2 separate regions of the Homo sapiens genome follow, and region 1 is linked to region 2. Evidence: promoter capture Hi-C in 16 types of primary human blood cells and fetal thymus (Javierre and others, 2016). All regions are on one chromosome and are shown on one strand. Each heading gives the region's core, a stretch centred on a gene start or on the middle of the fragment in contact. The rest is flanking DNA. Distances are from core to core; before and after follow the strand shown.

What was found. The method cuts DNA at HindIII sites, captures the fragments that hold promoters and counts their contacts. A CHiCAGO score of 5 or more calls a contact.
Region 1: a contact is called between a fragment that was not itself captured here and the fragment with the promoter of CHMP4A in region 2, in 1 of 17 cell types (non-activated CD4 T cells). The highest score is 5.0, in non-activated CD4 T cells.

The regions. Positions count from the first base shown.
Region 1 is chr14:23,086,937-23,093,545 of GRCh38, forward strand. It overlaps ACIN1 (apoptotic chromatin condensation inducer 1), which reads right to left. Exons shown (of 19, transcript NM_001386863.1): 2 at 6,543-6,608; 3 at 3,586-3,697; 4 at 3,046-3,165. Among named protein-coding and RNA genes, the nearest start is that of ACIN1, 4.9 kb to the right of the region's middle. The HindIII fragment of the contact is 2,299 bases long and covers 3,161-5,459 here.
Region 2 is chr14:24,211,508-24,217,774 of GRCh38, forward strand. It overlaps CHMP4A (charged multivesicular body protein 4A), which reads right to left and starts at 1,981. Exons shown (of 6, transcript NM_014169.5): 1 at 1,902-1,981; 2 at 173-322; 3 at 1-85. The coding sequence starts at 1,932. NEDD8-MDP1 (NEDD8-MDP1 readthrough) reads right to left here. Exons shown (of 7, transcript NM_001199823.3): 4 at 4,045-4,155; 5 at 2,985-3,092; 6 at 2,803-2,888; 7 at 2,436-2,644. The coding sequence ends at 2,517. It overlaps MDP1 (magnesium dependent phosphatase 1), which reads right to left and starts at 4,559. Exons shown (of 6, transcript NM_138476.4): 1 at 4,412-4,559; 2 at 4,230-4,290; 3 at 4,045-4,155; 4 at 2,985-3,092; 5 at 2,803-2,888; 6 at 2,436-2,644. The coding sequence starts at 4,448. The coding sequence ends at 2,517. NEDD8 (NEDD8 ubiquitin like modifier) reads right to left here. Exons shown (of 4, transcript NM_006156.3): 4 at 5,350-5,716. The coding sequence ends at 5,620. RefSeq lists enhancers at 1,390-1,509, 1,464-2,272, 1,700-2,199, 1,836-2,130, 3,285-4,023 and 1 more. The HindIII fragment of the contact is 5,751 bases long and covers 1-2,673 here.

The sequences.
Region 1 (6,609 bases), core at 3,060-5,559, 1.1 Mb before region 2:
TTAAAAAATGTAGAGCCCCAGGACTCCCATTCCTTGAGATTCTTTGGGTAGGGGCCAGGAATCCATATTCTTAAACATAGTAATATTAAAACAAATAAAAAATCTCCCTCAGGTGCCAGTAGCGTTTAGAAAAATGTTAGTAGGAAACTTAATCAAAAATTGTTATTCAAGAGAGAACCCCAAAACATTCAAAGCCAACAAATAAGCTGCCATTGCAATGGCATACTGGCATATGGCAGACTGAGATTCTATACCTGGAAGAATCTGATTTCTGGACAAACACTAGGGTTAATGCTGATTCAACTAAGCACTGATAGAATTCCAAATGGCCACTCCATTCAGGACCTTAACTAAATTTTGTACAACATCTATAATGGGATTCTTATCTAAGCCAAGATCAGAGGTAGAAAAGTTTATGGCATAAAGGACACTGAAGAGCATTTACGGCAATTATGAGCAGTACTCTACAATTTACCACATTCATATTTTCCAATTTATTTTTCACCTTTTTTTTTTTTTAACGTCTGGGGTTTTTTTTTTCCTCCATCAATCATTAGCCATGGGCAGGGTCTTACTGATGACATAAAGCACTGAAAAGATTGGCTACCCTTACTCTAAATCTTTGCTTTTGAAATCTATTTCAGAAATCATTTCTCATTTTCATTTCGAATTATATTAAGAACTGACAGCCTCTCTTTTTAAAGAGAGGTCCTTATCAAATCATGGTCCTATTAAGAATTTTCAATGGTTCCCCCATTACCTATAGAACTAAAAAAAAAACCCTCATACTTACTGGCCTGGCATTTAAAGCCCTCTGTGTATCACCCTCATCTACCTTTTAAATTGTTTTGCTGACTATTCTTGAATGTGAAATACTCTACTCTGGCTAGATTAGTCTACTACCTCTCCTTTAAAAATACCATTTTCATTCCTATCTCTCTGACTTTGTTCCTTCCTAAAAATATCTTCTTGTATCCTCTCTGCCAAACCATTTCTAAGGCTCAGCTCAAATCCTGTATCTCCTTATGAGGCTTTCTCTAATCACTGTAGTCCTCAGAGCTCTTCCACTCTTTTGGTTCCCTATGTCTGTATCATTGTCACATACTATCTTCTGTTGTTCGATTTATGTGTAATTGTTCTCTCTTCCTAACAGACTTTATGCTGTGCTAACTCCCAATATACTCTCACAGAGATATGTATGCAGTAGGAATTCAATAAATTTTTTTTTGTTTTATGTGAGAAGAAATACCGACAATTTTAGAAGAGCTTTCTCTTTCCTCTCGGCTTTAAAATCAAGGGGGAAAGGGCGCAGGGAGCAAAGTGGATCAGCTGAGGGTCTACTACTCTCGTATTTCAGGAGAAAAGAGGTCCCTAAGGAACTTAATAATTCCAAAGTATTGGCCAGTATTTTCTTACTAAAAGATTTCTAGAAATGTCTTTCTGGGTCTAAGACTAGGATCAAGAAAAACAGGGACTGAGTAAAACAGGACCTTAAAACTAGACTCAAAGGCTCTCTATTTTCTCTAGCCTTTTGGAAAATTTCTTTCCCACCATTAAATGTCTCCTAAAAAATCTATTTCCATGAAGAGTCTATCGCTGCTCAGCCTTTTAACTAAAATCAAGTGTAGTCCATGAAGGAATTCTGTATTAATCAGAAGAGCTGGAAACCTCCATACATCCTAAAAACACTGATTATGGTGGATTCCGCATCCCCCTCAACACTAATTATTCAAAATACTTGTTAAGTTACACATTGGTTTAACATATGTACTAACAATCCACATGTCTTATATACATATTAAGTATCCCTTTTCCAAAATGCTTGGGATCACAAGTGTTTTAGATTTTGGATTTTTGAATATTTGCATTATACTTTCTGATTCAGCATCCCTAATCTGAAAACCCAAAATCTGAAATGCTCTGATGAGCATTTCCTTTGAGTGTCATGTGAATACTCAAAAAGTTTTGGGTCTTTGGATTAGGCATGCTCAACCTGCACATATTTTCCTCAAAGTATACTGACTTAGACAGGTAGTTCCCAAAAGACAAAGGCTATATTTATAGACTTTTGCTTGAGATATTATGCAAAATTGGGTGCCTATTATGATTTTATGTATTTTTTGAGACACAGTCTCGCTCTATTGTCCAGGCTGAAGTGCAATGGTGCAATCTTGGCTCACTGCAACCTCTGCCTCCCGGGTTCAAGCGATTCTCCTGCCTTAGCCTCCCGAGTCACTGGGATTACAGGTGCCTGCCACCATACCCAGCTAATTTTTATATTTTTAGTAGAGACAGGGTTTTGCCATGGCTTTTTCACGGTTTTTCCAGGCTGGTCTGGAACTCCTGACCTCAGGTGATCCTCCTGCCTCAGCCTCCCAAAGTGCTGGGATTAGAGGCGTGAGCGACCACACCCAGTCTGGGTGCTTAATATTTTCTATAATGTGAAGAAATTAATTAATCTTGCCTGAACCAATCCCATATACTAGGTTAGAGCTCCCTACTATAATATGCTCACATAATACTCTGCGTTGCCTTGCACAGTAGCCAAAACAACTGTAACTAATGTCCATGTCCTCACTAGACTAAGTTTCTTGGGGCTGAGACTTGTTTCTTTCTTTACTATATTCCTCGTGCCTAGCATGTGCCTGGTATACAACAAGTACACAATAAAAATTTGTTGATTAAACCACAGCAGATACCCAACTCCAGAGGGTGACTGAATGTGTTAACACGTAATATACACAACTGGTGAAGAGATGAAAAAGAGCTGACTGTTGCCAAATTCAGAGGTAGAAGAGTTGAAGAGGTACAGATGAGAAGAAAAATCACACTGCTTCGTAAAACACTGAGAAGGTAACACAATATATAGGTGAAAGCAGACTTCAAAAAGGGTATACTTTCCATGAGAAACAGATGTCAAATATCAATGTCACAGAATTTCCCTGGGACTTTCATGGAGGCTTAGCATGAAAGGAGGTGTAACTACCTCCCCCCACCAACTACGCAGGATTGACAAAACAGCGCAGTGGGGAGGGAGATACGTACTGGGCGAATGTCTGCTGAGCTCCAGCTCTGGTCTCTCCAGGCTGCTCTGAAAGTCAGGAGGCAGCAGGGAAGCCACTCCCTCAGGATGGATCATCTCGTCCTCCGACTCAGCTGAAGCTTCTGCAAAGTACAGATCGGGTCGGGGCAGGGAGGGAGTGAAGGACTCAGCATGTAGGAATATGTAGAGGAGTGAAGGAGGTCAGGCAAAGTCACAGATACAGAGATACATACCAAAAAGAGCACCGTATAAAAAGAAAAAACTCCCTGGGATTCAGCTCTACTTCATCTAAATGGTAGCTTAATTTACTTATAACTCTTCCTGTTGGCAGGAATCCTCTTCTAACAAGACAGTCAAATTAAGTGTCCTCTTCCCTGACAAAAGTAAATAGTAAACCACTTGGCTTCATGGGCTATGAAAGCAAGTAAGTAGCAGTCTCAGCCTCACTTATTTCTGAAATTGTCTAGTTAGACAGGCCTATCTACTTGGTGACAGGGATAAGAATGACGAACTCCTTGTTAAAAGTGACAATCTGGGCTTACCTTCAAGTTCTGCAGCTTCTCGAGCTTCACGTTCCAGACGCTGCCTAAGTAGCTCCTGCTGCTTTTCCAGATACTGTTTTATGAAACTGTTCTGGCTCATTTCCTCACCAATCTGTGTAGAGGAAATGAAAACAGAGGGTCTAGGAAAACAAACCAGGAGAATGCAAAGAAGAACATTCCATGGAGCAAAGGTCCACTCCTTATAGTTGCGCCCAAGAAAGATAACTAAAATGTTGGAAGGCTTTTTTCTAAGTTAGTTCTATATTGAAGAACAGAATAGCCTTGAGTCACACACAAAAAAAGGGCAAAAAGAAGAGCTGCACATAAGTTTTTGATTTAAATATTCAGTTCCCAAAGAGTGATACTGGTATACAAATTACTATTCTTTATTTTTATTTTTTGAGACAGAGTTTCACTCTGTTGCCCAGGCTGGAGTGCAGTGGCGTGATCTTCCCTCACTGCAACCTCTGCCTCCTGGCTTCAAATGATTCTCCTGCCTCAGCCTCCTGAGTAGCTGGGATTACAGGTGTGCACCACCACACTCGGCTGATTTTTGTATTTTTAGTAGAGACGGGGTTTCACTATGTTGGTCAGACGGGTCTCAAACTCCTGACCTCAAGTGATCCACCCGCCTCAGCCTCCCAAAGTGCTGGGATTACAAGTGTGAGCCACCGTGCCCAGCCACAAATAACCTTAAATTAAAATTCCTGTAATTATATCTTTTAGGCTAAATTCCTAGATTACGTGGAACATTATCTAAAGGGTAATCTAAAATTTCCTTTTGGTAGTATCAAGACTGAAACATGGGGGCTCACGTCTGTAATCCCAGTACTTTGGGAGGCTGAAGTGGGAAGACTGCTTGAGCTCAGGAGTTCAAGATCAGTCTCAGCAACATGGCAAAACCCGTCTCTACCAAAAATACAAAAAGGTGGGCATATTGTGGTGTGAGTCTGTCATCCTGGCTACTCAGGAGGTGGTGGGTGCAGTGAACTGAGATCGTGCCACTGCACTCCAGCCTGGGTTAAAGAGCAAGACTCCATCTCAAGAAAAAAAAAAAAAAAAGCCAGTTCCTCCAAAAGATCAACCGTTACCTATCCAGGAAACATTTTTTTTTTTTTTTTTGAGACGGACTATCACTGTCATCCAGGCTGGAGAGCAATGGCGCGATCTTGGCTTGCTGCAACCTCCGCCTCCTGGGTTCAAGACATTCTCCTGCCTCAGTCTCCTGAGTAGCTGGGATTACAGACATGTGCCACCACAACCAGCTCATTTTTGCATTTTTAGTATAGACGGGGTTTTGCCATGTTGGCCAGGCTGGTCTCAAACTCCTGACCTCAGGTGATCTACCCGCCTTGGCCTCCCAAAGTGCTAGCATTACAGGCGTGAGCCACAATGCCCGGCCTCATATCCAGGAAACATTTTATCAAACAACTCCAAAATTCAAGTATAGTATTTAAAAGTATGAAATCAAGAGACTAAGAAAAGGGATATCCATTCAGCATTTAGACAAAGTTATAACTCCATTTTGTCTGGGTGAAAGGAAATCCTTGGTAACAGGAGCTTATGCCTTTTCCTATTTTTTTTTTTTTGTAATACAGATTCCCAAGTTGCCCTTCTGACCTCCAGCTTTCTCTTCACAAGTTCTCCTCCCTAGAACCTTCTTGCTTAGCAAGTCCTATTTAGAACTGAAAAAGCAAAAAAACCTGAATACTTTCTATGTTATTAGTCATGTTTCCTAAACATAGTAAAGGTTTATTTTCACCTAAAGTAGAAATGAGTCTCTTGGCACTCAATGGACATTGTTGAAGGGTGGGTTGCATGTGTATTACAGAATAGGCATGTTTGCTGCACAAACCCGGTGTTAATAAAAGCAAAGCTTCAAAGACTAACATGCAATGGGCAAAAGGAATACAATTAAGCTGATTAACTTATGCAGTTTCTTATGCTTGTTAAAGTACTTAATTGAACCTCTGAATGCTGGCTAGATTATGATACTTACAGCTTAATGAGGTGATAACAAAGGAGGAGGAGGGCTCTCTTGTTTTCCACAGTATCCTGAGACTTCATCTAGTACTGAGGCTGCACACTATTGCTTTAACAAAGACTTGGATTTTTCCTTTAAGTATATGACACATTATAATGAGGGGATTTTTAAAAGCTGAAAGAAACTTTAAGAGACTGTGCAGCCTAATAATTTTTGGATTTTAACTGTGGAATAATTTAAAAATTTTATGCAGAAACTCAATAGTTAAAAAGTAGATCTAATCTAGTTTAAGAGAGGAGTATGAGCCTTGCTTACTTGGGAAAAAGGTATTTCCCCTAGGAAGCTCCCCAAAGCAGCTCCACAAAACCCTAAGAGAACAGTTATAAACCCATGGGTTTAGTCTGTTTCTCATATTACAGATAAGGAAATGGAGAAGACCAAGGCCTCCAAAGGTTGTTTCTTATCCTAAGTAAAGAGGTATTAGTAATGTTTATGAGTAAGTGCACTGAGTTAGTAGTTAACACTAGTAATGGTGGGTGACTTACACAGGATTGAACCCTTGGAAAATCTACATCAACAAGAGTTCTTAATCAGCAACTATTTCCCTACACTGCCATATTGGTGATCTACTTCATATCTATACTCAAAGACATCAACTACCTTTCCTAAATTCATGGCAGATAAATGACTTCAGATCTCTGTACTACACGTAATTAATGGAAGCCACACCTTTCTACACATGCCATTTCAATTATTATAAACTAACAGTGCCTCTGATTCTGTTCTTTACTCCAGGCCCTTGTATACAACTGGGTTGATTAGAATTCAACTGTCCTGGTTTGAGAACATTTCTGACTAAGAGAACTTAGGAAAACAGTCATGAGGACTTAAGCATCAAATATACAACACCACGTCCTTCCATGTGTCTGGATATCCAAAGGGCCCACTCCATTGAATACACCTTCTTTCTCACCTGGGAATTTGGCTGGAATGCAGCATGGGGTGTTGAGTGTTTCTGTAAATTTTCTAGCATTAGAGCC
Region 2 (6,267 bases), core at 731-3,230:
TGAAACTCCAGGGTGGATAATGTCCCGTCAGTTTGTGCCAGCTGCTGTTCGAATCTTTTCTTCCTCCGCAAAGCCTGTAGGGCAGCTGACCCAGCCCATACCCTGAACATCAAGAGTCAGAAGCACCTGCTTCCCATCTGGGCCCTCCCCATAGGCTTGTTTCCCTCATTACCTCTCTTATTCTTGGTCCCATACTTCTTGGCTGTTTGTAGCTCCTGTTGAATCTTCTGCTCCAAAAATTCCTGTTTCTTGATCAGTATCTTCTCTGTCTCCTTCAGTTTCTGTATTGCTTCTTCAGGGGTTGGCCCTTTCTCCTTCTTCCCTGAGGAGTCCAGTGGAGTAGGCCCAAATTTTGTGAAGGAAAAATATTAGCCACCAATCATTGAATACATAGTATGTGCTAGAGACCTGACTGTGTTATTGCTAATCCCCAAATCTCTACAATGAACGTGCTATCTCTTCACTTTAAAAATGTGAAAACAACCACAAAGATGTTAAAAATCACAACTAATAAGAGATTGTGCAGGAATCAAGATGTGGCAGTATGAGTTCTAAAACCAATATTCTTTTTACTATTCCTAGCTGCCTTTCTTTTTTTTTCTTTAGGCAGAGTTTCAGTCTTGTTGCCCAGGCTGGAACGCAATGGCGTGATCTCAGCTCACCTCAACCTCCGCCTCCTGGGTTCAAGCAATTCTCCTGCCTCAGCCTCCCAAATAGCTGGGATCACAGGCATGTGCCACCATGCCTGGCTAATTTTTTGTGTTTTTAGTACAGACAGGCTTTCTCCATGTTGGTCAGGCTGGTGTCGAACTCCCAACCTCAGGTGATCTGCCCGCCTCGGCCTCCCAAAGTGTTTTGATTACAGGCATGAGCCACCGCGCCAGGACTTCTTTTTTTGAGACAGAGTCTCGCTCTGTTGCCCAGGCCAGAGTGCAGTGGCATGATCTCAGCTCATTGCAACCTCCGTCTCCCGGGTTCAAGTGATTCTCCTGCCTCAGCCTCCCTGAGTAGCTGGGACTACAGGCACACACCATCATGCCCACCTAATTTTTTTTTTTTTTTTTGAGAATGGAGTCTCCCTCTGTCACCAAGGCTGGAGTGCATTGGTGCAATCTTGGCTCACTACAACCTCCGCCTCCTGGGTTCAAGCGATTCACCTGTCTCAGCCTCCCCCAGTAGCTGGGACTACAGGCGCGTGCCACCACAACCAGCTAATTTTTTTTTTTTTTTTGTATTTTTAGTAGAGACAAGGTTTCACCATGTTGTCCAGGCTGGTCTCGAACTCTTGACCTCAGGTGATCCACCCACCTCGGCCTCCCAAAGTGCTGGGATTACAGGCGTGAGCCACCGCGCCCGGCCAATTTTTATATTTTTAGTAGAGACGGGGTTTCACCATATTGGCCAGGCTGATCTCAAACTCCTGACCTCATGATCCACCCACGTCGGCCTCCCAAAGTGTTGCGAGTACAGGCGTGAGCCCCCGCGCCGGGCTAAGAAGGCAGTCTTTCTTCTTCACCTTAGATCCCTCTTGCCCAGCACAAAGTATTATAGAACAAGGTTTTGAAAATGGCTGAAGACAGCAGGAAACTCGTCTTCAAGCCTGAACAGTGGGAGTCAGCACGATCGCCACGCCCTCAACTCAAGTCCCCTCCCAGATCTTGAGTTCTTCCCTCTGAGAGTGGGGGAGGACGGCGGACGGGAACAAGGCGCCCCGACATGGTGTGCCTTTTGGCACCGGCGATGAGCCTTGCTCCGCCATCGGCCGCCGGGGTTTTCCAGTCAGCCTGTCTCCTGATTCTCTTCCCCTGCCCGGCGCAGCGGTCCGGCCGAATCTCGCCGGGGTCTCCTCTTCCCCTGCACCAGCCAGCGCCTCCTGGCTGGCCAGTCCCACCCTGGCTCACCCTTCCCGAAGAGCCTGCCGAGACCACTCATCGCGAGCTCGCCTCTCCCGCCTCCGCCCCTCAGCGTCCTCCAGACTTCCGCCTTGCTCCTGGGAGGGTGATGTCTCATCACACAGGGACCAGCCTTGCCCAATCCGTCCTCAGGGCGCCGCCGCGACATCAAGAGGCGCAAACGAGACCACCGGTGTCACGTGACCCAAGCCACCAGCCCCAGACCGACGCGCTCCTCTTAAAGCTGCCACATCATTTTCTATTAAGTAAAAAGACAGTTCTATCTCCACCTGAGTACGTGCTTGTTCTCCGGAAGGAAATGTGCAGTGTGATGGCACCTCAGTGTATGGGGTCAGTGGGAAAACTTCATGCTCTTTACAGAGCTCAGGAAAGTGGGGTGGTATAGGTTCAAGCACTTGGGGTTGCCCTAAGTTTAGATGGCAAACCTGATGCAGTCTAATGTCTCACATTCTGGTCTCTGCACCTCAGGACAACCAACCCCATTTCACAGGCTAGAAAAATAGAAACTCCCCACACTGTGGGTAAAATCTCTTCTGTCACACACAGATGAACTTTAATAAATTACAAATGCACCTGAAAATGCCTTCTTGATTTCCTTTCAGTTTAGGCCTCAAATGGGCTCTCCTCAAGGCTGGACCTCAAAGGCCCAGTTTGGGCCTTCGCAAATGTCTCTAACCCTTGACTTAGAGTTTGAAGATTCATTCCATTCTGGATGTGAATGCAGGTAACACCTAGAAAGATAAGAAGTCACATTTCATTAAGCTTTCAGGGTTCTCCATTATTACTCTGACCTTTGTGAGTGCCACCTATAGGGCAAACTATCCAACCTGTATGTATCTACCTAATCCCTCCTAGGGACCCCAAATGGCTGTTCCTCATCACTCAGTACCCAGTTTGCTGACGTCTACAATATTCCGCCTCTCATCATCAAAGAAGATCATCTGGGAGAAAGGAATTCCAGTCTTCTGCTGCAACCTATTCAAGACAGGGCAGGAGTAACCAAGCTAGTATCTTGGTTTCCCAGGCCTCTCTGATACTTTCTCACCCTGCTCCTCCCTTATCTCCGCATACCTCTCAAAGTGTGTGATCTTGCTGCCTGGATAGATTTCCCGATGAACAAAGTACCTGAAGAGGTCAAAGAGCTCCAGTAGCTGGTTGGCCCCTTCTATCTCACTTGTCCTGCAAAACGGTGTAAAAGATGGGATTAGCAAAGTGAAGGGCCAGGGCTACGTTAACTTATTAAGCAAAGTTAGTAAGTATAACCAGGGAAATCAACTTGCTGTTTTTCCGGGATGGACAGGCATCCTCAGCCTCTGTTTAACTCCATTGCCTTCCTATTTGACACAATTGGTGCTGGGCCAATGTTTTAGCTTTTGTTTTGAGACAGGGTCTAGCTCTGTTGCCCAGACTGGAGTGCAGCGACCCAATCACGGCTCACTGTGGTCACGACCTCCTGGGCTCAAGTGATCCTCCCACCTCAGCCTCCCAAGTAGCTGGGACTACAGGTGCACGCCACTACAATTTTTTTTTTTTTTTTGGTAGAGATAGGGTCTCCCTCTATTGCCTAGGCTGGTCTCAAATTCCTGGGCTCAAGTGATCCTCCCACCTAGGCCTCCCAAAATGCTAAGATTACAGGTGTGAGTCACTGTGTCTGGCCCCACTTTTTTTTTTTTTTTTTTTTTTGAGACATTGTCTCACTCTGTCACCCAGGCTGAAGTGCAGTGGCTCCATCTCAGCTCACTGCAACCTCCGCCTCCCGGGTTCAAGCGATTCTCCTGCCTCAGCCTCCCGAGTAGCTAGGATTACAGGTGCGTGCCACCACGCCCTGCTAATTTTTGTATTTTTAGTAGAGACGGGGTTTCACCATGTTGATCAGGCTGGTCTTGAACTCCCGATCTCGTGATCCACCCGCCTCGGCCTCCCAAAGTGCTGGGATTACAGACGTGAGCCACCGCGCCCGCCTGCTGGCCCCACTTTTTAATAGTTAAAAGGCACAGGAGAGCGTTCAAGGGAAAAAATATGTAAATACTTGGAAACTTGCACCGCCCCTATTTTTGTAGACCAGGGGTTTCACTGTCTCTTGCATGCACCCTTCAGCATTACACTGTCAGTTGTCAGTCGCTCTTCTTACCTTGAAGCAGCCGCACCGGGCACCCCAAGGCTCTGCAATCGTTTTAGGACCTCAGGCACCTCTGGGTACAGTCGGACGTCTTGGCCCCGCCTATCTCGTACAGTTCCATCACTGGAGAGGGCAAGAGTGCGCTCAGCCCTGGCTGGGTCCTATCTCGCCCCCAGTCTTCCCTGTCCCTACCTCACCTGCTCTTATGGAACGGAGGGTCTACGTGCGTGTCGACCCAGAAAGGCCAGAGAGTGTAATCTGCGAGAGGAAGGAGAGGGAAGGTTCAGCCTGGGGCGGGAGATGCAGGGATTCGGGAGCTGCTGTTAGGGATGTGGAAAAGGAGAGCACCTTACGAAATTCTCCCCTTCCCGTCCCTCACCCAAATCAAAGACTGCCAGCTTCGGTAGCCGCGCCATGACCCGCACCGCAGGCTGCGCGCAGCAGAGGTGGGGCTTCACCCGGGGCCTTAGAGAGTGCGGAACCTCCGGCAGCTAAGGCAGCCACCCTGCCTGCCATAGACAAATGGCGACTAGAGCGTCGCCACTCGGGGCGTCATCAGCCTGGAGATGGCGCAAGAGTGCCATCTGATGCTGGGCGGGGAAGAGGATTGCAGCGAGGTACCAACACGACCACACATGCAACCACAGCAGTCAAGTCTTTCTAAGGCATTGGCCACGGGCATCCTCCCTACTTCTCCACTCCACCCAGCCTTGCCCGATTCTATTATACTAAGAAGCCAGGGAAGAAGGAAAGCCTTTTCTTCTAGCACCTGCCTCTTCTTGAGACCCAAGTGATACATCACAGCTTGTCACTCAATCTTTCTGCATTATCAACCTCCTGACAGTGTAGAACCCAAAGTCCTCAGTAATATTCCAGCCATAGAGTACAGTGTCAGCCAAACCCTTGAAGGCGTTCTCCAACCAGGCCTAAATGTCCAGTACAGCCACAGTCAAGAGAGAATTCACTCTCCGAAGGTTTCACCATCCATGTCAGCACTACACTGGTAGATGTATAACAACCAGTTTGTGGGGAGGAACTGATCTGTAGTGTTTGCTAGTTTCTGTAAATAATCCTACCATGGCCAATTTCAAGCTACCAACATGAAGTCACTTAATAGAGTTGGAAAAAGGTGCCAATAATTGGCTCTCATTAGCCACTAGGAACTGGTTCCAACACACCACTAAGTAGGTTTTCCTAGAGTCTGATAATCCCCGTAAGAGCACCATTCCTTCCACTGTCCGATTCCTTCAGCCTGCTATAACTGAGTGAGCATTAGGTCCATTTTTATTTCAGTCAACTTGTGCAACAGAAGAAAGATTCCAGGAGGCCAGGAAATATTTTATTGACAACCAGGGACACAGTCATAAGAGAGGGAAGCACACAGGACTGCAAACTAACACCCAGTAGCCAGCAAGGGCCCTCTGGGCCAGGAATACTGAATCCTGGGATCCTCACAGTCTCCCACCAGTAGACATACATTACTGGGCATCCAGGGGAGGGGGCAGTGGCTATGGTGTCCCAGAGAGTGAGAGGATATATGATGCCTCATTATGAGCGACAGGGTAAAGAGGTAAAATGGAGGGTCCATCACTGCCTAAGACCACCTCCTCCTCTCAGAGCCAACACCAGGTGAAGGACTGAACCACCTAAAATCTTGTAATCAGCTGCTGTCTTCTCATCATTCCTGCAGGAAAAGGAAGCCAGAAAAAAAAGAAAAAGAAGACTTAGGAGTTTTTTGTTGTTGTTGTTGTTGTTGTTGTTGTTGTTTTTGACAGAGTCTCGCTCTGTCATCTAGGCTGGAGTACAGTGGCACGATCTCAGCTCACTGCAACTTCCACCTCCTGGGTTCAAGCAATTCTCCTGCTTCAGCCTCCTGAGTAGCTGGGATTACAAGCGCCCACCACCACGCCCAGCTAATTTTTGTATTTTTAGTAAAGATGGGGTTTCACCATGTTGGCCAGGCTGGTCTCGAACTCCTGACCTCAGGTGATCCACCCCCTTCAGCCTCCCAAAGTGCTGGGATTACAGGCGTGAGCCACTGCGCCCGGCCAGAACAGGAGTTCTTGAGTTTCCTGGATCTCTTTGGGGGTCTGTGAACTTGAATGAGAAAAAAAATCCCATCTTTATTTTTACTAACCCCCAACTGAAATTTAACATTTCTTCTAACTTTAAACATAGCCCAAAAACCACAGTAGTATTAGCAATATAGGTAACTTGTTAACAATAGCAATTAAC